Linked DNA regions of Homo sapiens: regions 2, 3 and 4 are each linked to region 1. Evidence: promoter capture Hi-C in 16 types of primary human blood cells and fetal thymus (Javierre and others, 2016). All regions are on one chromosome and are shown on one strand. Each heading gives the region's core, a stretch centred on a gene start or on the middle of the fragment in contact. The rest is flanking DNA. Distances are from core to core; before and after follow the strand shown. Region 1 holds the start of H2AZ2 (H2A.Z variant histone 2). Region 2 has its middle 28 kb from the start of ZMIZ2. Region 3 has its middle 23 kb from the start of ZMIZ2. Region 4 has its middle 40 kb from the start of PURB.

Evidence for each region. Contacts are between HindIII fragments. The CHiCAGO score rates a contact against its expected background, and 5 or more counts as called.
Region 2: a fragment that was not itself captured here is called in contact with the fragment with the promoter of H2AZ2 in region 1 in 1 of 17 cell types (monocytes); the score reaches 5.4 in monocytes.
Region 3: a fragment that was not itself captured here is called in contact with the fragment with the promoter of H2AZ2 in region 1 in 2 of 17 cell types (total CD8 T cells and monocytes); the score reaches 8.0 in total CD8 T cells.
Region 4: a fragment that was not itself captured here is called in contact with the fragment with the promoter of H2AZ2 in region 1 in 17 of 17 cell types (total CD8 T cells, megakaryocytes, activated CD4 T cells and 14 more); the score reaches 22.4 in total CD8 T cells.

What each region holds. Positions count from the first base shown.
Region 1 is chr7:44,846,670-44,849,369 of GRCh38, forward strand. It overlaps H2AZ2 (H2A.Z variant histone 2), which reads right to left and starts at 1,418. Exons shown (of 5, transcript NM_012412.5): 1 at 1,300-1,418. The coding sequence starts at 1,302. It overlaps H2AZ2-DT (H2AZ2 divergent transcript), which reads left to right and starts at 1,802. Exons shown (of 2, transcript NR_187581.1): 1 at 1,802-1,852. RefSeq lists enhancers at 1,001-1,558, 1,559-2,117 and silencers at 1,044-1,433, 1,694-1,753. The HindIII fragment of the contact is 6,622 bases long and covers 1-2,700 here.
Region 2 is chr7:44,719,541-44,722,240 of GRCh38, forward strand. No RefSeq gene overlaps it. Among named protein-coding and RNA genes, the nearest start is that of ZMIZ2, 28 kb to the right of the region's middle. The HindIII fragment of the contact is 5,346 bases long and covers 1-2,700 here.
Region 3 is chr7:44,770,524-44,773,341 of GRCh38, forward strand. No RefSeq gene overlaps it. Among named protein-coding and RNA genes, the nearest start is that of ZMIZ2, 23 kb to the left of the region's middle. The HindIII fragment of the contact is 1,174 bases long and covers 678-1,851 here.
Region 4 is chr7:44,924,274-44,926,973 of GRCh38, forward strand. No RefSeq gene overlaps it. Among named protein-coding and RNA genes, the nearest start is that of PURB, 40 kb to the left of the region's middle. The HindIII fragment of the contact is 4,333 bases long and covers 1-2,700 here.

The sequences.
Region 1 (2,700 bases), core at 168-2,667:
CCACAAAAAACTAGAATCATGAAAATCATCTGTTTGAGCAAATCCTTTTACAGATTAGATGTAAGCTGTACCTCAGTTTGATAAAGTACTATAAAGTACTTTACAATAACAATAAACTATACGTGAGACGTTGGAAGCAATTATCCCTAAAGTCTATTCCAGCTCTAAGATTTGGGTTTTTTACAATAACAATAAACTATACGTTAGACGTTGGAAGCAATTATCCCTAAAGTCTATTCCAGCTCTAAGATTTGGGTATTTTACAATAACCAAACATTGTCCTCTCGACTGGCCAATCTGTTTACAGTTAGGTGTTATGTCTATTCAATACCATATCTGTCACATCAAGCACAAGACAAATCATCTAATACTATCTGCAGTATGATAAATGACAGCTTGGTGCTAACTTTTAAGCAGGTAGCTCCCGTTGAAGTAACCTTTCAACAGAATGCTTAAAGCACGAATACCGGCAAAAATAAGATTCCATAACAGTCTTATTATTTTTACACAATCTTTGATGCAACTCAGAGCGTATCCTTTAGCACCTTCTCTTTTCCCCTCAACTTTAAAATGGGGCTGAAGTTCTATTCACTTTCATTTTTTTAAAGCCACACTCTTCTTATCTAGATCTGAATTTCAGAATGAAAAGATGAATACTTTAAGACTGAAAATCCATAGCAAGGGCAAAGGAAAGTACTGTTGTATAATGAAAACCGCAAACTGCAAGGGGCTCAGAAGATAACGGGCGTTCATTTCTAACCTGTGCAATCACCTAGAACAAATCGTGTGGTTCTGGTCTATAAAACCATTCTTTGTCGCTCAAAAGACCACAAATACAAGCACCCTTTCGCAGAAACCCTCAAACTGACTGCCAGGGAGATTACGTAACCAAACATCGCCAAAGACTTATCTAACTTGTACAGCGGCAGCCTGTTTGACCTCATTCATACAGAGAAGCGATCACATTAAGATCCAGCACTTGTTTCTACATTTCCAAGCCGGATTCTGCCGTCCTCCTCCTTCTAAGACGGGCGGTGCAGCGTCACAAGCGTCGGGACAGATCTATCCGGCTCGGAACAGACTTCGCGCTCTACCCGGCCAGGCCCAGCTCTCACCCGGGGACCCGTGTCGGGCTCCGCAGCTGGGACATGGCGCCCCCCGGCGGGCGGCGAGGGGCTCGGCCGGACGAAGCCCAGACACCCGCAAACTCCCGACTCCACAGGTAGCGGCGCCGACGCCAGGGCCTCCGCGCTCTGCTCTCCCAGGCCCCGTGCCCCCGGCCCACCCGGCCGCCCTTACCATGTTCTCGGCGCCGACTCCGCCTCCGCTCGGCCGCGCGCCCTCCCGCTGCCGACCCGCGCCGCCGCCGCCGCTCTCGCAGCACCGACCGCCGCCGCCGGAGCCGGACAATACCCCGTGCCCGCCTCGCGCTGCTGTGGCCAATGCCCGCTTGTCTTGCTGGTTCGAACCCCAGCGGCTGTTCAATCGCGCGCCTCCTTCTAGCCAGACCCCGCCCCCCCGGCACCGCCTTCCTAACGGCTGTTTGTTTTTGCACACGGCACGCGGAGGCGGGGCCTCCAGCCCCAATAGTGACGCGCTCTCTGCCTTTCACCAGGCGCCCAAGCCTGACGAACAGAAAGGCAAACCAATGAGATTGGACGCCTCGCAGACGAAAGCCAATAAAAATATCGCCCGCGAGCAAGGGAGGCGGGCCACTGGGAAGGACAGCAAAATTAGCTAATAAGGTGAAGCGATTGCAGGCGCTGTGGCTTTCCCGCCCATTCGCGGCGTTGGTTTTCCCGCTTCTGAGACTTGTTTGGGGAGGTAAAGAGTGTTGGACGTGCTTCTCCTGGTGGGTTTTCACAGACTGTGAGGATTTATTCGTCTTAGAACGTGTGGATCAGGAGGGCGCTGGGTTTCAAGGTTAGGCAGGCCTCATGCTCAGCCGTATTCTGGCGGACTGACTACCCTGACGTCCTCTCAGCGCGGACCCTGACAAGGTCCGCGGCAGGCTGAGGCGGGAGAATCGCTTGAACCCCGGAGGCGGAGGTTGCAGTGAGCCGAGATCGCGCCACTGCACTCCAGCTGGGCGACGCATCGTCTCAAAACAAACAAACAAAAACAAAAGCTATCAATTGGCTACATATTGTTATTTGTATGACAAATTCTTTTTCCTTTTTTAGAGATGGAGTCCTGGGACTACAGGCGCGCGCCCCAATGCCCAGCTAACTTTTGTATTTTTAATAGAGACGGGGTTTCTCCGTGTTGGTCAGGCTGGTCTCGAACTCCTGACCTCAGGTGATCTGCCCCCCTTTGCCTCCCAAAGTACTGGGATTACAGGCGTGAGCCACCGCGCCCGGCATGTATTACAAATTCTAAGAACACGAAGATAATGGGGCCGGCTTGGTGGCGCGAACCTGTAGCCTCACCTACTGTCAAGACTGAGACAGGAGGATCTCTTGAGCCCAGGAGGTCGAGGCTGCAGTGAGTCATGATCGCACCACTGCACTCCAGCTTGGGAGACAGAATATACCCTGTCTAAAAAATAATAATAAAAAAAAAGGTAATGGATGAGGCCGATAGTCAGGAATGAAATGACTTTAAACAATTGGGTATGCATGGGATTGGGTATGTGTGTATGTGGGGGCAGAGGGTGGGCATAACCGAAGTCCCATACTCATGTCCCTCTAGGCCTAATAC
Region 2 (2,700 bases), core at 159-2,658, 130 kb before region 1:
ACAGGCACCTACCACCATGCCCAGCTAATTTTTTTGTTTTTTGGTTTTTGGGGTTTTTTTTGAGATGGAGTCTCACTCTGTCACCCAGGATGGAGTGCAGTGGTGTAATTTTGGCTCACTGTAACCTCCGTTTCCTGGGTTCAAGCAATTCTCCTGCCTCAGCCTCCTGAGTAGCTGGGATTACAGGGGTGTGCCACTGTGCCCAGCTAATTTTTGTATTTTTAGTAGAGACGGGGTTTCATCATGTTGTCCAGGTGGGTCTTGAACTCCTGACCTCGTGATCTGCCCGCCTTGGCCTCCCAAAGTGCTGGGATTACAGGCGTGAGCCACCACACCTGGCCATTTTTTTGTATTTTTAATAGAGACGGGGTTTCACCATCTTGGCCAGGCTAGTCTTGAACTCCTGACCTTGTGATCCACCCACCTCAGCCTCCCAAAGTGCTGGAATTACAGGTGTGAGCCACTGCACCTGGCCTAAAATAACCAGTTTCTCCAATCGTGTCCTGTTGCAAAAACAGACTCTTTTTTTGGGGGGGTGCGGGGACAGAGTTTTGCTCTTGTCACCAGGGTGGAGTGCAATGGCATGATCTCAGCTTACTGCAACCTCCGCCTCCCAGGTTCAAGCAATTCTGCCGCCTCAGCCTCCCGAGTAGCTGGGACAGCATACAGGTGCCCAGCACCATGCCTGACTCATTTTTGTATTTTTAGTGGAGACAAGGTTTCACCATGTTGCCCAGGGTGGTCTTGAACTCCTGACTTTGGGTGATCCACCTACCTCGGCTTCCCAAAGTCCCGGGATTACAGGCGTGAGGCACTGCGCCTGGCTAAAAACAGATTCTTATTGCACTTATGCCAATAACTACATCACCATAAGTTAAGAATACTCACAACTAGTTTCCAAATTCTGGAGAAACCAGGTAGAGAGAAACAAATATGCTCTAAATTTTGTTCACTTTACTCAATTGTTAAAAGCTGTAAATAGCTAAAAAGAAATTTTTTCTTAACTCTGAAAAACAAAGCAAAGGATTAGTAACATTTTAAGCAAATGTTAAAAAAGATTACTTCAGGCTTCTATTAGTTTATTACATGCAGTTAACTCCTGTTTGATATTCATGAACATTTCAGCTCTTCATGAGAGTCCTGAAAGTATTTTCCTCTACTCTAATGTCACAATCTCAAAAGTTATCAGAAACCTGCGTTTAAGAACATCTGTTAGAGTTCTATAGTTGATTATAAACCACCTTCTAAAGAGGACCAAAACAAGACAACAATTATTTATGGATGACAAAATGTCTTAGGACGGCCACAGTCAACAACACAATTGACAAAGAAATTTGGTTACCTCTGTGGAATACAATGACTTTATGTAACAATTATAATTATTAATAACATATACTAAGTCATATCTGAATTATGAGTTTCCCATTATTTTGGAACACATACCAAGAACATATTTATAAAAATACAGCCTCAAGAAAGCCAAATACCATTTCAATTTGACAATGTTTCCTGTATGATTTTTGTACCAAATAAGACAAACTTTCACCTTTACATTAGTGTATTATTAATGTTAAACCCAATTCTCAATAAAACCTTATAGACATATCTACCCAACGTCAATGTTTAACCATAAGGTAAGATTCTCATAAACCTTTTATAACCCTTTACAAATTTTTGTTAAAGAGCATATTATAAGCAGGTTTTTGCTTTAAGAAAAACATATTTTGCTTTTATTCCAATGTTTAATTTACAGAAAAACTGAATAATATCCCCTTAACTTTAGCCAATATATTCACGCACAGAATTTTTTTTTTTTTTAGACAGAGTCTCACTCTGTCATCCAGGCTAAAGTGCAGTGGCATGATCTTGGCTTACTACAACCTCCACCTCCTAGGTTCAAGTGATTCTCATGTCTCAGCCCCCTGAGTAGCTGGGATTACAGGCTCATAGCACCATGCCCAGCTAATGTTTTTTAATTTTTAGTAGAGACTGGGTTTTGCCATGTTGGCCAGGCTGGTCTTGAACTCCTGACCTCAAGTGATCCACCCGACTCAGCCTCCTCCCAAAATGCTGGGATTACAGGCGTGAGCCACCATGTCTGGCCCATACACTGAATTTTTTTAACAAGATTATTATTTTTTTCTGTTTTTTTTTTTTTTTTCCAAGATGGAGTCTCGCTCTGTTGCCCAGGCTGGAGTGCAGTGGCACAATCTTGGCTCACTGCAATCTCCACTTCCCAGGTTCAAGCAATTCTCCTGCCTCAGCCTCCTGTGTAGCTGGGACTACAGGCGTGTGCCACCATGCACAGCTAATTTTTTTTGTATTTTTAGTATAGATGGGGTTTCACCATGTTGTCCAGGCTGGTCTCGAACTCCCAACCTCAAGTGATCCACCTGCCTTTGCCTCCCAAAGTGGTGGGATTACGGGAGTGAGCCACCATGCCCAGTCTACAGGATTAATTTTTTACAAACCTTCCACAATTTGCTTAAACCTTCAGCTTTATTCCATCTAACTTAATACAATCATTTAACCCATTAATCTAGTCAAAAAAATGTACATTCCCATGACTTCTTATAATCTTTTACCAAAAACACATTTCACTTTTTTACACACCTTGCATGTAAAATTGTTTCTTCAGTAGTCTCAATTACATGTTACAGTGTTAACTCTTAGTGACTTTTACTTTTACTGCCAACCTTT
Region 3 (2,818 bases), core at 15-2,514, 76 kb before region 1:
GCGGCACTTTGGGAGGCCGAGGCAGGCAGATCACCTGAGGTCAGAAGTTCGAGACCAACCTGGCCAAAGTGGTGAAACCCTGTCTCTACTAAAAACACAAAAATTAGCCAGGCGTGGTGGCTCACACCTGTAATCCCAGCTATTCACGAGGCTGAGGCAGGAAAATCACTTGAACCCAGGAGGCAGAGGTTGCAGTGAGCTGAGATCATGCCATTGCACTCCAGCTTGGGTGACAGAGTGAGACTCTGTCTCAAAACAACAACAAAAAAATTCCTAGAAAGATACAAATGACCAAAATTGTCCCAGGAAAAATAGAAAATCTGAACAGGGCCAGGTGCAGTGGCTCACACCTGTGATCCCAGCACTTGGGGAGAACTAGTTAGGAGGATGGCCTGAGGCCAGGAGTTCGAGACCAGCCTGGGCAACAGAGACCCTGCCTCGACAAAATCTTTAGAAATCAACCAGGTGTCATGGCACGTGCCTGTAGCCCCAGCTACTTGGGAGGCTGAAGCAGGAGGATAGCTAGAGCCCAGGAGTTCAAAGCTGCAACGACCTATGACAGCACCACTGCACTCCAGCCAGGAATGAGGCAGAGACAGAGACCTGACCTCAAAAAAAGAAGAAAAAGGAAAAAATCTGAACCAACCTAAAACACATAGGTAGAACCAGTCATCAAAAGCTTCCCAACAAAAGAAAAGCCCAGGACCAGATGGTGAATTCTACCAAATGCTAAAGAATGGACATAAATCCCCAAATTCTCCCAAACATTGTGGAGGAGAAAACACTTCCTAATTCCCCGTATTCATGTGAGGGGCCAGCTTCCCTCCCATTCTGCCCCAGCTTCCTCCAGTGGCCTTCCCCAGCAGGCAGTGGCCCCCACTTCTGACCCCTGTAACTCTACCCACTGTGGGTTTCCTCCTTGCCACCCTTCCAGCCTTCCAGGCTTTGGGGGCCATTGAGACAGCCCATCCTGCCTGCCCTGAGTGGGAGGGCAAGACATGACTGGCTCAGGATGGCCTGTCACCCAAGTTGCCTCAAAGAAGCCAGGGACATCAGTGCAGTCGGATGCACAGTGCAGTAGGTTTTGGTAAGTGCACACGCGTGTGTACCTGCCCTTCCAAACCTCACAGGAGAGACCAACCCACACCCCACCCCAGGTCATCACTGTTCTGGCCCCTGTCACCAGAGATTAATTTTGCCCTTTCTGAAACTTTATGTCAGTGAATATTAGAGTCTGTGTCTTGTTGTTAACTGATCCTTAAAGCGTCTGTGTTTATTTTCTTTTTTTTTTTTTTTAAGACGGAGTCTTGCTCTGTCGCCCAGGCTGGAGTGCAGTGGCATGATCTCAGCTCACTGCAACTTCCGCCTCCCGGGTTCAAGTGATTCTCCTGCTCAGCCTCCTGAGCAGCTGGGATTACAGGTGGCGCGCCATCACGCCTGGCTAATTCTTGTAATTTTAGTAGAGATGGGGTTTCACCATGTTGGTTAGGCTGGTCTCGAACTCCTGACCTTGTGATCTGCCTGCCTCGGCCTCCCAAAGTGCTGGGATTATAGGCTTGAGCCACTGTGCCTTTTTATTTTCATTTAACTGTATATTGTTCTTGTTCATTCTCTCAGTTACCACTTAGAAGGGAGGATTAATGGGTACCCTTCCCCAGCATCCTATACCCCAGCTCTTCTCTGACCAAGTCTTGAACCCTGTCATGGTACATTAGCTAGGACTCAATAGGTTGCAAGTGACGGTGACCAATTCAAACCAGTTAAGGAAGGAAGGGGCTCAAAATAGCAGTCCTGAAAGGGCCCTGGGGCAGCTGGACATGGGTAGGCATCCTTCCTTGGCCTCTGTGTGCAAGCTTCACCCTCAACCAGCTGCTTCTGTGAACTTGAGATCCAAGCTTCGGAGCCTCACTTCTCATTGATTCACCCTAGAAAAGAGGTGATGATCACTCTCCTTCTGGTTCCAAGTTTAAAATCCCAGGGATGGGATCTGGTTGACTCAACCAGGTAGGGACCCACCCACACAGCTAGAGTGGGGTCAGGAGCACTGCCCGAAAGAAGGGAAGCAGTTATCACAAGAGGGAGTACAGAGGGCCTCCCATTGCCTTGGGATGAAGTCCTTGCCTGCTCCCAACAGTCTCCACATTACCTCGTTCCTGCCCGTCTACCTTCTGGGTCAGGCTTCAGCTAAGACGCCATTCCTGGGAGAACCCTCTGCCTCCAGGATAAGTCAGGGCCTCCTCCTGAAGCCTTGATTCACTCTGTGGAATGCCTTTCACAGTTCCCATCGTAGCTGATCAGTTAAACCGTGGTGTGATTGTTCTTCCCACTTTTTTTTTTTTATTTTTTAGAGATGGGGGGGTGTCACTCTGTCAGGTGGAGTGCAGTGGTGCAATCACAGCTCACTGCAGCGTTGACCTCCAGGGCATAAGCACTCCTCTCATCTCAGCCTCCCAGGTGGCTGGGGCCACAGGCTTACACCACCACGCCTGGCTAATTTTTTTTTTTTAAGCAGAGTCTCACTCTGTCCTCCAGGTGGGAGTGCAGTGACGCGATCTCGGCTCACTGCAACCTTCGCCTCCTGGATTCAAGCGAATCAGCCTCCTGAGTACTGGGATTACAGTACTCGGCCTCCTGAGTACTGGGATTACAGTACTCGGCCTCCTGAGTACTGGGATTACAGGCGTGTGCCACCAAGCCCTGCTAATTTTTGTATTTTTAGTAGGGATGGGGTTTCACCATGTTGGCCAGGCTGGTTATGAACTCCTGACCTCAAGTGATCCGCCCGCCAAGGCCTCCCAAAGTGCTGGGATTACAGGAG
Region 4 (2,700 bases), core at 169-2,668, 78 kb after region 1:
ACATCTGTGGCTTCTCCCTTCCTGGCCTGCGATCATCTACAGGATAGCCCAGTGTTGACACAGGCCGTGTGCTGCTGCCTGCCAGGTACCAAGCTGAGAACTGTGGACACGGGAAAGGGGTTGAGGGATGCCGTATTGTCTAGGACTGGAGCTGGCACCTTGCTGGTCCCTTTATACACTGGTTATCTTAATTTTCACACACAAATGTTGTTATTCATGTGGTCTGGTGGAGGGAACTTAAGTGTATGGTCTTATAAACTGTAAAAGGGGTGGGGCGCTGTGGCTCATGCCTGTAGTCCCAGCACTTTGGGAGGCCGAGATGGGCGGATTACTTGAGGTCAGGAGTTTGAAACCAGCCTGGGCAACATGGTGAAACCCTGTCTCTACTAAAAATACAAAAAAATTAGCCGCACATGGTGGTGCATGCCTGTAATCCCAGCTACTTGGGAGGCTGAGGCAGGAGAATCACTTGAACCTGGGAGGCGGAGGTTGCAGTGAGCCGAGATCGCGCCATTGCATTCCAGCCTAGGCAGCAAGAGCGAAACTCCGTCTCAAAACAACAACAACAACAAAACAACAACAACAACAACAACAACAAAAACTGTAAGAGGATACCCAGATGGCCAACATGCCTGAAAAGGTGCTCAATCTCATCAGTGATCAGGCAGAAGCAAATAAAAACACAAGGCGGGGTGCAGTGGCTCACACCTGTAATCCCAGCACTTTGGGAGGCTGAGGCAGGAAGATCGCTTGAGCCCAGGAGTTCAAGACCAGCCTGGACTAAATAGTGAGACCCCATCTCTAAAAAATATTTAAAAATTAGCTGGACATGGGGGCACACACCTGTAGTTCCAGATACTTGGGAGGCTAAGGTGTGAGGATTGTTTGAGCCCAGAAGATGGAGGCTGCAGTGAGCCGTGATTGCACCCCTTGCACTCCAGCCTGGGTGACAGAGTGAGACCCTGTTTCAAACACACACACACACACACACACACACACACACACACACACACACACACACACACACTAAGATACCAGTACAGACCCATAGACCCATCAAATGAAAAAGACTGACAATACCAGGAGTAACATCCCCGCTGCTGATGGGAATCTAAATTGGTGCAGCCACTTTGCAAGTAGTTTGGCAGGATCTTTTTTTTTTTTTTTTGAAATGGAGTTTTGCTCTTGTAGCTCATGCTGGAGTGTAACGGCGCAATCTCGGCTCACTGCAGCCTCCGCCTCCCGACATCAAGCAATTCTCCTGCCTCAGCCTCCCGAGTAGCTGGGATTACAGGCGCCCACCACCATGCCTGGCTAATTTTTTATATTTTTAGTAGAGACGGGGGTTTCGCCATGTTGGCCAGGCTGGTCTTGAACTCCTGGCCTCAGGTGATCTGCCCGCCTCGGCCTCCCAAAGTGCTGGGATTACAGATGTGAGCCACTGCACTGGCCAGCAGGATCTTTAGTAGATAAATATCCACACATGCTAGGACCTCACCACTCCACCCAAAAGAAACAAACGCTTATGTGATGTGCAGTAGCATTTACCAGAGCCCTAGACTGGAAATAGCCAAATGTCCATCAACAGGAGAAAAATGAAATAAAATAATGATGAAAACAAAAATGAAATAATGAAAAAAATGAAATAAAATAATCATGCAATGGAATACTATACTATGAAAATAGGCCAACTACTGCCATACATAGCAGCTATGATGTTTGTACCTAAATGATGTGTTTTCCAAATTTTATCATTAATATCACGATGAATACCTTTAAACATGTCTTTCCAGAATACTTCTAGAGAATGACTACAAAGTAAATTGCTAAAGAGTAGCTGATGAATCAGGCTATGGGAATTCTTGATTTTTATAGATGTTGTTCGTTACCTTCAGAAAAAGACTAAATCAATTTATACTCACACCAGCCATGCCTCAGAGAGTCTGCTTTCCCACACACCTGCCAATACAGAAGGTATATGTGTTTAAAATATACTTTGAAAACAAGTAATATTCCTTCACAGTTTCACCTGGATCCTCATTTACTTATGTCGCCTGTTCTCAATCATCTTTAGTGTATTAGTTAGGAAAATGCCACCTGCTATGACTGACTCTAGAAGGAATACTACCTCATCAGAACAGGAGTCCTTTTTTGCTCCTACAAAGAAAAGGTAAGGTTTCTGATGATTAGCACTGGCAAGATTTGCTCCAAGTGATCATTCAAGAACCTAGATGGAAATATATCACTGATTTCTGTTTCTCCATCTATAAAATGAGAGTAAGGATACCATGCCCTACCTTGTAGGGATAGAGTGATTGTCAGCTAAGGTCACACATTTGAATGTCTTAGTAACAGAGTGCAGACTCACCCATTCCCAGCTTCTAGGGTGGTAGGAAAGGGCCCATTCTCCATAAGTGGAAGATCTATTTCAGAGCGAGAAAGAAAAAGGTGCTGAAGCAGTGTCAGAGCACGGCAAACTATCCTTCCTCCTCTTGTTACCAAGCGGTCAATGGGCTTGCAGTCCCATGTGCATACAAGCCAATATCAAGGCCTTGGCTTTTGAGAAAAGGAGTTGGAGGCTAGGTAGGGTTTTATTAGCGTAAAGTAATGAAGTGTGATCTGACTGGATCTTGCAGTGAGGTGATGCCAGAAGGCATGGTCTGACTGGATCCTGCCATGGAGTGATACCACAACTCCATC